Linked DNA regions of Homo sapiens: all the other regions are linked to region 3. The links are contacts of gene promoters, found by promoter capture Hi-C in blood cells and fetal thymus (Javierre and others, 2016). All regions are on one chromosome and are shown on one strand. Each heading gives the region's core, a stretch centred on a gene start or on the middle of the fragment in contact. The rest is flanking DNA. Distances are from core to core; before and after follow the strand shown. Region 1 holds the start of CLCNKB (chloride voltage-gated channel Kb). Region 2 overlaps SZRD1 (SUZ RNA binding domain containing 1). Region 3 holds the start of CPLANE2 (ciliogenesis and planar polarity effector complex subunit 2).

Region 1 (4,230 bases), core at 1,537-4,036, 190 kb before region 3:
GCACGATCTCAGCTCACTGCAACCTCTGCCTCCCGGGTTCAAGCGATTCTCCTGCCTCAGTCTCCCAAGTAGCTGGGATTACAGGTGTGCGCCACCTTACCCAGCTAATTTTTGTATTTATGGTAGAGACAGGGCTTCGCCAAGTTGGCCAGGCTGGTCTCGAGCTCCTGGCCTCAGGTGATCTGCTGGCCTGGGCCTCCCAAAGCGCTGGGATTACAGGCACTGTGCCTGGCTCCGCATCTCCTGTCTTTTCAGATCCTTGTCATGACCACTGTTTCCCTCCAGCGTTCCTCTGCTCCCTTCTCATTGGATGTGCAGAAGTCTGTGTCAGCCCCAGCCTCTCGGGATGACCTTAGCAGGCGTCTCTTCCTCCCCGACCTCTGTCCCGTGCTTGGTGGGTCCTCAGCCCACAGGCCAGTACACCTAGGCTGGCACCCCAAGGCACCCGGCATGGAGTGGCCAAGTGAAGGGGAAGGGACCTGGTCACTGAGGAAACACTCAGATCCCCTCCACCTGGAGCTGGGCCCAGCCAGAGACTGCCTAGAACCTTTGGGGTTTCTGGAGCCACCCTCAGACTCTGGGAGCCTGGTGTTCCTAAGGAACCCCCAGCACTCCTCACTCTTCAAACTCCCTTCCCCTCTCACTGAAGACAGTGGGACCAGGTAAGGCATGGGAAGGGGCTGTGGGGGTGAGCTGGTAAGGCCTCTGTCTTGGGAAGGGGTGGGAGATGGGGGGTCTGCTAGCTCCCCAGCTGTCCCCACAGTTCCTCTGGGAAGCCAGGAATAACCAGAGCCTCCCTCCCCTCCTAGGCACCTGGCAGTGGGGGTGTAACCATTGGAATAAAAGCAGGGCAGGGGACCCTGCTTCATGTCACCTGCCAGGATGCAAAGTAGTGTGGGGACTCAGTGACCTCTGAATGTGGGTTCTCTGTACCGCCCCGCTCCCACCCATACCTGCCCTGTCTCTTTCAGCGTGCCCTGTCCCCCATCCCGTCCTCAGCTGCTCTGAGGCGAGGGGGCTGTGCAGGTCCTGGGCACCCGACCCCCACTGTCATGAGACAGAGACCCAGGTCTCAGGCTCAGCTCATTTGACAGAGGAGGAAAACAGAGGCTCCGGATGGTGATGGTGTTAGGGTCACAGAGCCGCCCTGGGTTCTCCCCTGCTGTCTCTCTACTGAGCCCCCGCTACTGCTGCCAGGCGACTAATATGGAAGGGGAGAAATTAGGGCTGATGTGGAGGCAGTGGGTTTGGGAGGGACCTGCATTGGGTCCTGCGCCCCCTGGCTGCCCTCTTCTCAGCCTCCTGGGGCACACAGGGCTGGGGGGTGAGGGTGGATGTGGACATGCAGTGCCGGCTGTGGGACAGTAGCCAGCAGCTGCCCCAGACCAGACACTGGGGATCCGGATGTTGACAGGGCAGCCAGTTCTGGTGCTGTGCAGAGTCAACAGGTCAGGGTGGCCAAGATGAAGGTGGGCTCGGGTTCATGCAGAGCGGCAACCCCCATCCCACCTCCCACAACACACACCTTCAATTTTGATTTGACTTGCCTGGCATCTAGGGGCAAAGGGTGGCCCAGGGTCCCAGATTTTAACAATCATCCAAGGGCCATCATGTTATTCAGAGAGTGGCTTTGTCTGGGTAGGACTGGAGGCAATTGCCCCCAACATCTTGCCCCAAAGTGGCATCAGACACAACTCTTCTGTTCTGTGCCCAAACCATTGCCCTGGTTCAGCCTCAGGAGCTGGAGGAGCTTTGGGCAGGGGAAGAGCTGCACAGTGTGGGGCTGGGTTCAGCCTCTGCTGTGTGACCTTGGATGAGTGACTCACCTCTCTGACCATCTACAAAATGGCGAGGCTCTCCCCATTCACAGGGTGTGGGGAGGAGGACTTGAGCTGCGGATGTGACGCTTCTGACACGTTGCAGGCACACGGCACGTGCTTGTTCCTCGCCATGTCCCCTCACACCTGTGCTGCCATCCTCTGTTGGGGTGGGACAAACTCTGTGGAATTACCCAGAAGTCCCCACCAGAGCCGCTGGCCCTTGGACGTGTGCTTTGAGAGGCATTTCCTGAGCCTGGAGGGTCTGGACACAGGATCAAGTCTGAGTTCCTGACCCCAATTCACTGCCTTGCCCCAGGTGTCGGCCTCCTCGCCAGCCCTGGACAAGATGGGTCATCAGGATGGGACCGTGTGGCACAGCCTGCGGGCTTTGGAGCCAGGCAAACCTGGGCTGGGAATCCTGGCGCTGCCTCGGCCTCCGTGATCTTAGACGGGCAGCCCCACCTCCCTGAGACACCATTTCTCTACAACGGGATCACGCTGCCTGCCTCGTGGGATTTCCGTGGGCACTCAGGGTAATTAATCTAGGGGAAGGCTGACTCTCTACCTGGCACACAGGGAGGCTGTGGTCATGCTGGCCCCACTCACCTTTGCCGGCCTGCTTTCTCCTTCTCTGCCCAGCCTCCTCCCCTCTCCCTCTGTGCTTTTCCAAACCTTCCATGTCCAGCTCTGAGACCCCTGGACCCTGAGCCTCAGCCTTGGCAGATGACCCCTCTCTGTCCTGCTGTGTGCGTGAGCTCCCCCTTCCCAGCCCCCGTCCAGCAGCACCCAGGAGCCTGAGTACAGCTGGGCACCACCCTCTGTGCAGCTATGGTGGGTGGGGAGGCTCCTGTTCCCCTCCCTGTTGGCAGCTCTGCTCTGCTCTGCTCCGGCCTGGGCAGTTCTGATCGGTTTTCAAGGACATTCTAAGTGTTCGCCATAAACCCTGGGCCCAGGCGGGAAAGGGGGGAGGATGTTGATTGTTGGAACACACACCTGTCCAGGTGCAGGGGAGCTGGAGGCTCTGTGAGAGGAGGGCCAGCTCAGCCACAGCAGGAGGACTGACAGGTGAGGGGTCGCTGCAAGATGCTGGGGCCTGCCAGGGCCAGACAGGCAGGGCGGGGGGGGGGGGGTGGTAAGGGCAGGAGCCAGCACCTCACTTTGGCCCTGGTGGGATCTTCTTCTGGGCCTGGGGTTTTGCTGCCTCTGTGGCCTGAGCTGGGGTCAGGGGTGCTCATAGGTGGACAGGGAGAGTCAGAGCCATCCATGGGACTCTGCAGTGAGAGTGTCACAGCCCTGGGCAGAGACTGCTCCCAGCAGTGGAAGCGCCAAGTGACCCAGGAGGGTGGGAGCGGCTGCCACCGAAGGGGAAGGGGCTCTGAGCAGGGCTTGGGCTCCGGCCTGTGCCCAGTCTGCTGCTGGACACAGGGGGACACCTAGGAATCCCACCCCCATCCCACACAATGACACACACAGGCACACACCCTCAGTGACGGAAACTCAGGGATGAAGGCACACACAGACCTAGTGTGATAACTTCACATACACACACACACACACACACACGCACAATCTTTCCTCTTCATGGGTGGGGAGAGCACTGGAAGGGCCTAGAGGCAGTGCGAGGACGTGCAGCAGCTCACCGCGGTCCCTCCCTCTATCCGCTTCTCCAGGGGCCTGATGGAGGAGTTTGTGGGGCTGCGTGAAGGCTCCTCAGGGAACCCTGTGACTCTGCAGGAGCTGTGGGGCCCCTGTCCCCGCATCCGCCGAGGCATCCGAGGTGAGAGCCAGGTCCTCTTCCCTTCCCCCTGGAGGACCACTCAGGACATCATTCCTGCCCAGCTCCCACCCCACCTCCCTGCCCAGGAACCACCCTCCTCCTGGCATTTGTCCAGGACATGACTGCCCAAAGTCTCCTGGGTGGCAGGGAGGGAAGGGGTCTGTCTGTCCAGCTGTCTGTGGGTCAGATGGGCCGGGCATCTGCCCTCTGCCTTTCGGGAGATACAGCCCAAGGCCTGGTCACTGTGCCCATCTTCCACCCAGGCCTCTCCCTCACCTACCTGTGCCAATGAGGGGACGTGGGGGTTAGCTGCTGGGACAGCTGGGGCCACAGCAAGGGGCTGGGGCAGCCTACACTTGGCACCTTTCCTTGGAGCCCCATGTGCTTTGTTCACTTTGAGACCTGACTGTCCCCTCAGCTACGGGGCAGAGCAAGTAGGGACCACAGAAGGAGGCTGACTGCAACCCCAGGGGCTGGTGCCCACAGCCAGTGAGGGCCAGCTCCCAGGCTGGGCTAGCAGCCAGTGGGCCAGGAGCATTGCTGGGGACCCAGAGGATACCTGGCGCCACAGGTCCTGGGACACGCAGGAGTCTGCTAGATCCTGGTGCTCTCTAAGCTATGGACTCTGCGGGG
Region 2 (4,254 bases), core at 1,431-3,930, 150 kb after region 3:
TTTGAGACAGAGTCTCGCTCTGTCGCCCAGGCTGGAGTGCAGTGGCACGATCTCAGCTCACTGCAAGCTCCACCTCCCAGGTTCACGCCATCCTCCTGCCTCAGCCTCCCGAGTAGCTGGGACTACAGGCACCCACCACCACGCCCGGCTAATTTTTTGTATTTTTTTGAGGGGGGGTGGGGGGGGGGCAGAGTCTTGCTCTGTCGCCCAGGCTGGAGTGCAGTGGCGCCATCTCGGCTCACTGCAAGCTTCGCCTCCCGGGTTCACGCCATTCTCCTGCCTCAGCCTTCTGAGTAGCTGGGACTACAGGCGTCCTGCCTCAGCCTTCTGAGTAGCTGGGACTACAGGCGCCCGCCACAACGCCTGGCTAATTTTTTTTTTTTTTGTATGTTTAGTAGAGATGGGGTTTCCACTGTGTTAGCCAGGATGGTCTCGATCTCCTGACCTCGTGATCCGCCCACCTCGGCCTCCCAAAGTGCTGGCATTGCAGGCGTGAGCCACCGTGCCTGGCCAATTTTTTGTATTTTTATTAGAGACGGGGTTTCACCGCGTTAGCCAGGATGGTCTCAATCTCCTGCCCTCGTGATCCGCCCGCCTCGGCCTCCCAAAGTGCTGGGATTATAGGCGTGAGCCACCGCGCTGGGCTGAGAATAGTTATTTTCAGAACATACAGAGCACTTACGAAAATGGCCTACATGCTGAGCCATGGGGCAGATCTCACCAAATTTCAAAGTCTCCACACTACGGCTGTGGTTCTTCACATTTTGCAAGTGATGGACTTCTTTGAAAATCCCAGTCTAATAAATTAAGGTTGCCCAGACTTAGCACTGTTGACTTTTGGGGTTAAATAGTTCTTTGTGTGGGGCTGTCCTGTACACTGTAGGACATTTAGCATTTCCCCAATAGTGGCAACCAAAAATGGCTTGACATTGTCCAGTGTCCCCTGAGGGACAGAATCTTATCTGGTTGAGAACCACCATTAGAGATCTTGTCTCTAGAAAAACACAGAATTTTGCATACAGTTTCTTCCATCTCCATTAGAGCTAGTTGATCTTGTCCTCACTGAGGATGGCTGAGGGAGTGGGACTTTTTCTAAGAAAGGCCGTAGGGCAGCCAAGCAGCCTGGGGGTTTGGTCTTTGTTCTGTGCACGGCCTCTCCCCACACCCCTGTCCTGGATATAGATGCTCACACGCGTGTGTGGAGGTGTCATAGGCATGCTGGTGCTGATGGGCTGAGGGCTCAGACTGCCATGAGCCCAATGTCCTGCTCAGGGCTTGAAGAGATGAGGCCAGGGCGTGTTGGAAGGCAGTCCTGCCTGCTCCTCCTTCTCAGCCTCTTTCTTCTCTCTGCTTTTCTCTAAAATGGTGGTGTTGTTTTAATCAAGACCTGTCAGGCTCTGGTTCTGAGAGAAATACTTGCTGCACTCTCAGGTGTCTTGTCTCTTCCTCAGGTTCCCCATGTTCACTTGTAGACCATGGACCTCCAAAGCCACAAACATAAGGCATAGGTTTTACTCTAAGCCTTTCGGTAGGTGCCAGTCACAGAGAGTTCAAGTCCGTAACAGTAAAAAATACATTATTAAAATATTAGATATGACCATAAAGGAATGTAAAAGGGAGAGTTTATTCTGAGGACCAGGTGATGCACCATGCTGGTGGGATCAGAGGAGACTTTATAAAGGAGAGGTAGACATCCAGGCTGGGTTGTGCAGGATCAATGGGAGTTTGCAAGGGGAGGGGACATTGCAGGCAGGTGGAACAGCATGCTGAGTTCTGGGGGCTAGTGATAGCAAAACAGAGACAGAAGGTAAAAGAAGGTATGGGTGAGGCATGCTCAGAAGCTTTGACTAGGTCTGCAAGCAGTTGAAGGGTTTAAAGTAGGGAAGTGACATGATCAGATTTATGTTTAATTTTTTTTCCAACTCTTTATTTCATAAAATAGAGTAAGTGTTCCTAAGTTTAGGTTTAGAAGTTGATATGAGTGGCTCTGTGAAAGACAGATTACAGGTCAGAAAACTGGTTGGAGGCTATGCAAAGAACCCAGCTGAACAATGAGGTTTAGAACTGTCATGGCGGCCATGGGGCTAGAAGGGAGATGGACCTGCAGAGGGTATCAGGTCCCCAAACCCCAAAATCTAGTCCACATTTGTTATGTTGAAGGACACAGTCATGTCCCTGGCTAGAGAAAGGACACTGCCCTTAGCTCCAAAAATAAAGACTAAGTTTTTATTTGAGAGAGATTTTTTCCTCTTTTTATATACATTTTTTTCCTCTAGGAAATAGACAGACGGTTGGAAAAAAAACTGAAGATCACACAAAAAGAGAGGTAAGGCTGCTGTCTGGTCTGAGGGCTCATGCTCTCTGTGGTTTGAGAGCCGGGCAGTCAGTGGTGTTCTCCAGCTGGCCATTAGGATTAGCAGGTCCTAGCAGGTCAGGCTCTGGGGCAGCAAACCCTTCCCTCCAAATTGGAGACCAGGACGTGGTGGCTTGAGGCTTTAGGGTTGAGGCTGGGGTGTTGCACCTGCCTCTGACCTTCGTGGGCTCCCTGTGTGAGGTCATCTGATGCAATGTGAGGAAGTGACAAGTTGGAAGACTTGAGTTTTAGGCCTGGCAGTGCCCCAGTTGCTCTGAGGTCTGGGGCAAGTCATTTCCCAGATCTGGACATCAGTTTCTTTCTCTGTGGCATGAGGAGTGTGGGCAGATGATTTCTCTGGGTCCCCAGTGACTTGGTGGTCTAGGGTATTATGAGGGTATCCTGGAAGAAAACATTCTAGGAAATTCTTGAAAAAACCTTTAAAAATAGCTTTGTTTTCCACCTAGACGACAGAGGAGGGTGTTTCCAGAGTAGGTGAAAGTTGACTTCGGCTTTCTGCTTTTGGGCTTAGGGAACCTGTTGGTTTTCCATAGGTACAAGGGACAGGAAGGAGGATAGGGCCCCTCTGGATTTGCTCACGGGGCTGCACAGTCATTCCCCAGGAAACTCTGGGTGCTCTGCCCGCCCGCTAGTTTTCCTGGCTCCCTGCCTCTTTGATCAGATTGCTGGCTCCTTGTCTGTCTGCTCATCTCAGCAACCACGCTAACCCTGGGTTACAGTCCTCGTTCCATACCATTTGTGTCCTACCCGAGACTTGTTTCCATCCACCCTGGCTCAGTTCCTCCAATCCCGACTCCTCCTGACAGCCAAGGCTCTGGAAGCAGGCTTGTTTGGTTCTGAAGAGAAGCTGGTTGACTGCTCTGGGTAGGGTCCTGGTGGCTGTTGTCGGGTGGTCATTCCTGCCTGGGTTCCTGTCTCCTCCTGTGGCTTTTGTTTCTTTCCCTTCCTGTGTTGTTGTCCCTCTTTGTTTTTTGTCATTCCACCTCTCCCTGTGGACACATCGCCTTGATGTACGCGTCCACCAGCCTTGGACAATGCTTTTCTTTTGAGCATTGCCAAGCACTGTTTCTAGGAGCATCCTTCACTCCAGCCCCGCCGCTGTCCAAAAGACCAGGGAGCCCTGGCAAGGGAGGTTTCTCTGTTCAGAAGCTTTTTGAAGAGGATTCAGTTGTCTGGTGTAGCTTGTCTCTGGGAGGCACAGGTCACTCTCACTAGAAGGTGGCTTGGTAAATCTTGATGCCAGGCAGGGATGGCGTAGTGGGCTCCTTTGTAGTGTTTGTCTGGTTTGAGCATGTGATGGAAGATTTGGCTGAGTGAACACTGCTGACCCCCAAGTTCAAAGGCTCCCACCCCACCAGCCAGTCCTACTCTGATCTGCGTAGAGAAGCTGGGATCTTAACTGACGTCATTCAATTCTGGACATAAACTGTTTTGCTGCAGGGCCAAATAGTGGTTGATGTGGCTGTGGTGAACATGGGGATAGAAGTGCCAGAATGAGGTGGCGTTCCAGCCCCTGTGGCCAGGGGTTAGGGCTGAGGAGCAGTTCCTGTGGCCTGTCAGAGCTGGTCGCAAGCTTACTTTTTTGGGACACCCTTCTTGAGGAGTGGAAATTTTGCTGTCTGGTCAGAGGCCAGAGAATCATGCATGGGTAGAATTAGGGAGGGAGAGGAAAGTGATGAGAGGTGGGTGTGGGACATGGACAGGGCCTCCTTAGTCAGGAGCATGATTTGTGAAGCTGTGTTTGCTCTTTGTCAGCAGGAAATCCAAATCTCCTCCCAAAGTGCCCATTGTGATTCAGGACGATAGCCTTCCCGCGGGGCCCCCTCCACAGATCCGCATCCTCAAGAGGCCCACCAGCAACGGTGTGGTCAGCAGCCCCA
Region 3 (3,957 bases), core at 1,285-3,784:
ACTACAAGGCATGAGCCACCACATACAGCCAAGGACAACCTCATTTCTAATGGCTTCTTCAGGGCTAACCAACCATCTGTGGTTCTTTTTTGTTTTTTTTTGAGACGGAGTTTCGCTTTTGTTGCCCAGGCTGGAGTGCAATGGTGTGATCTCACTGCAACTTCCGCCTCCCGGGTTCAAGTGATTCTCCTGCCTCAGCCTCCCGAGTAGCTGGGATTATAGGCATGCGCCACCATGCCTGGCTAATTTTGTATTTTTAGAGATGGGGTTTCTCCATGTTGGTCAGGCTGGTCTCGAACTCCCAACCTCAGGTGATCTGCCTGCCTCAGCCTCCCAAAGTGCTGGGATTACAGGCGTGAGCCACCGTGCCCGGCCTCATCTGTGGCTCTTAATACTCAACCTAATTTTACAGAAGTCTGGGATACAAAGAGACTAGCCTAAGCATTATAGTCAGTCTGTTGATATTTATTTACTAGCTGCTCTCAGCGTTTGTTGTGGGGCCTGCATGACAACCACTGAATGATACATTCAGGTGCATAAACCCAGCTGTTAAAAAAAAACCCAAATGTCTGCAGTTAAAGTAAAAACACAAAAATTAAAAGCCATCACTGCCATTCCTCTAAGTTATGGCTGCTTAATCCTATCTGTGGCATAGATAATATGGTCAGTGGATTCTATGATGTTCCCAGAAAATCAGCTCAACCTTCACTCAATTCTCTTCCACTCAACACAACTAAATGCAAAATAAATACAATAACAGCCAACCTTCAGTGAACACCCACTGCATGCCAGAACCTGCTTGGTATGTTACAAACACCCTCCTTATTAATTTCCCCAGTAACTCTATGGGGTAAATACTGTGATTATCCCCATTTTACAGAGGTGGGACTTGAGGCTAGAGTTCACTTATTCCCAGCCATACAGCTAGCAGTGGTGGAGCCTGGGTCACTTGCCTGGGTATGTGTGACCCCAAATACAGTGTTGCCAGCCATCATGGGATTAGAGGGACAGTGGCCATATTAGAGGGTCTTTTTTTTTTTTTTTTTTTTGAGACGGAGTTTCACTCTTGTCACCCAGGATGGAATGCAATGGCTCGATCTAGGGTTGCTGCAACCTCTGCCTTCTGTGTTCAAGCGATTCTCCTGCCTCAGCCTCCCAAGTAGCTGGGATTACAGGTGCCCGCCACCACGTCCGGCTAATTTTTGTATTTTTAGTAAAGATGGGGTTTCGCCATGTTGGCCAGGCTGGTCTTGAACTCCTGACCTCAGGTGATTTGCCCACCTCGGCCTCCCAAAGTGCTGGGATTACAGGCCACTGCGCCCAGCCTTCTAGAGGGTCATTTTTTGAATTTAATATAATTTCTTTTAAAAAAACAAACAAACAGTTGACTTATTCACAAATTTTGGTTCTAGCTATCTCACTCTCTGGTCTTAAGTCTTCTGGCACCTTGCTTCTCCTGGCCAGAGCTGGGCTCCACAGCTGATTCCAGGCACCTCTGCCGGCCTGACAGCTGGGCCCTGCCTGGGTGAGTCAGTTTCACCATGGGGAACACCAGCGTCTCATCCCAGAGACAGCAGGACATGGAAGAGGCTCACCTCTATTTATTGGGGTGTGATCTTAGCCAAGTCTGTACCATGTGCTGTTGAGAGGTTAAATGGGCGTGCACTGTGTAACGTGCCCAACAGAGGGCCTGGCACCAGGGGAGTGCTCAATCAACTGCATCTCTGGTGACAGTGGTTGCTGGCAAGGTTTCTGCTGTTTCCATGTTCCTGGCTCTGACGATGGAATTAGCTCTAAGGAGATTTAGGTGTGGGGGTCCCAGAGCTAGGGCTTTCAGTCCCCCAGGCTGAAGACTGCTGAAGACTGCAGTGGAGCAGGCCCTCACTGCCCTGCCTCTCTGCTCTCCTCAGGGAGCAACAGGTGACACTCTTCTCCCCAGGGAAAGACAAGTGGCGGGCTAGAGGAAAGGGGGAGGCACTTACCAAACACCCGCCGGCGGTTCTTGCGCAGAATGCAAGCCAGGTACTCCTTGCCCTCGGCACTCTCGTGCCAGTTTGGGACAACCACCGAACCGGGCACGGGAGGTCTGGCCATGGCTGGGCACCGCGACGGGGTAGGGAGGTGACAGAATGCTGAGAGCAGGGAGTGGGAAGGGGAGTGACAGTACCAAGCCGGGCCTGTGATCCCTCTTAACTGCCCTCTGACTCTCCCGGGGGGCCCCAGAAAGTGCAGTCCCTCAGCCGCCTCTCTCCTTCGCAATGCTCCCTGGGGATAGTCATCCCATTACTGCCCATGGAGGGTATTCACACAGCCCCTCTCCCCTTGTCACCTCCGGGGGTCAGACAGCCCCGCTTCTCCTCTACCTTCTAGATCCCGACTCCCAGGGCTACCTAGCCCTCCCCGTCAGCAGTCCCGGCGGCGAACCGACCTGGGTGCCGAAGGCCCCTTTAAACGCCCACCCGCACTCCCGCCGCCCCAGCCCGCCGGGCCCACTTCCGCCCCGCCTGCGTCCGCCTTCTGCGCGTGCTGGCAGCTCCGGCGCAGGTGCGCGCGGCGCATGTGCGGAGGTTGTTGCCATGGAGACGCCGGAGGTTGGGTTGGGCGGGTTCCGGGAGGCGTTCGTCCCTCCTACAACGTCCGCAGCCTGCGCCGCGCGGTGGCTCTGGACTAGGCCTTTTCCTCTGGGTTGTGGATCCTCTTCTCTATGACTCCGTCCGATCCCTAGTCTTTCTTCCAAAACATCATGAAACCCCCCCTCCAGGAGCCTTTCATGCTTCTCTGTGTCTCAGTTTCCTCTTCTATAACGTGGACGTAACATGTTATTCCCTCCATAGCAGTGCTCCATATGTTTAGTTATGATTGTTGCTATTATTAATATTATTGCTCTATTAATCCTGCTTGGCAGGACCTCTAGATGACTTAAACATCTCTGGCTTCACTGATGGGGACACACACCAGCTCAGAGAGGTCAAGGGACTTGGCTCAAGTTTTAAAAAATGAGTCAGAGGCCCGCTGGATTGTATTTTTCATTCATTCATTCATTCAACAAATACTGAGCACCTAGCTGGGAATACAGTGGCCAACAAGAAGTCCCTGCTCTCCTGGAGCTGACTTTTCAGCTCTGAAACTCTGAGCTCCTCTCCACCGTTCCAGCACTGGACACCAGGCCTGTTACCCAGAAGGTGGGTGCTCAGTAAATGCCCACTGGTTGGAAAGAGTGCAGGTGGGTCATTACTGAGAGTTTGTCTATTACATTTAATTTTTACCATTATCTTTCCGCAATGCCTTCAAGTAGGGCAAATCACTGTTTTGAAAGGAATAATTTAGGAGTTAAGCTTTACCTAAGGCCACCCAAGTGCCAGACAGTGGGGACTTTACAGGGGTCACCTGATTTAATTCTATAAACAAACCTGTGTAAATAGTATTACCCTCTTGTACTGACGAAGACTCTCAGAAACATAACGTGACTTGTCTGAGGTCACACCGCACAGCTAGTCAGTGTGAAACCGACTCAGAACCCACAGCTGGCTGGGTGTGGTGGCTCACGCCTGTAATCCCAGCACTTTGGGAAGCTGAGGCGGGCAGATTGCTTAAGCTCAGGAGTTTGAGACCAACCTGGGCAACATAGTAAGACCCTGCCTCTACAAAAAAAAAAATACAAAAATTAGCCGGGCACAGTAGTGCACGCCTGTAGTCCCAGCTACTTGGAGGCTGAGATGAGAGGATTGCTTGAGCCCGGGAAATGGAGGTTGCAGTGAGCCGAGATCATGCCACTGCACTTCAGCCTGAGTGACAGAGCTAGGCCCTGTCAAAAAAAAAAAAAAAAAAAAAAAAAGAACCCACACTTACCTGACTCTAAAGTACTTATCTGTTCTGCCAGTTTGGGTTTTGTGTTTTTAAAACTTTGCCCCTAGCCACTAGGAGGGCTGTTCCTAGGGAAGCAGAAAGCAGCCAGAG

The links. The method cuts DNA at HindIII sites, captures the fragments that hold promoters and counts their contacts. A CHiCAGO score of 5 or more calls a contact.
Region 1: a contact is called between the fragment with the promoter of CLCNKB here and the fragment with the promoter of CPLANE2 in region 3, in 16 of 17 cell types (erythroblasts, M0 macrophages, fetal thymus and 13 more). The highest score is 13.9, in erythroblasts.
Region 2: a contact is called between a fragment that was not itself captured here and the fragment with the promoter of CPLANE2 in region 3, in 1 of 17 cell types (endothelial precursors). The highest score is 5.2, in endothelial precursors.

The regions. Positions count from the first base shown.
Region 1 is chr1:16,040,996-16,045,225 of GRCh38, forward strand. It overlaps CLCNKB (chloride voltage-gated channel Kb), which reads left to right and starts at 2,787. Exons shown (of 20, transcript NM_000085.5): 1 at 2,787-2,885; 2 at 3,491-3,597. The coding sequence starts at 3,498. The HindIII fragment of the contact is 13,884 bases long and covers 1-4,230 here.
Region 2 is chr1:16,389,099-16,393,352 of GRCh38, forward strand. SZRD1 (SUZ RNA binding domain containing 1) reads left to right here. Exons shown (of 4, transcript NM_001114600.3): 2 at 2,277-2,326; 3 at 4,130-4,254. Among named protein-coding and RNA genes, the nearest start is that of SZRD1, 24 kb to the left of the region's middle. RefSeq lists an enhancer at 3,920-4,254. The HindIII fragment of the contact is 1,682 bases long and covers 1,840-3,521 here.
Region 3 is chr1:16,234,649-16,238,605 of GRCh38, forward strand. It overlaps CPLANE2 (ciliogenesis and planar polarity effector complex subunit 2), which reads right to left and starts at 2,535. Exons shown (of 5, transcript NM_030907.4): 1 at 1,983-2,535. The coding sequence starts at 2,094. RefSeq lists an enhancer at 2,028-2,572 and a silencer at 2,413-2,592. The HindIII fragment of the contact is 3,895 bases long and covers 1-3,333 here.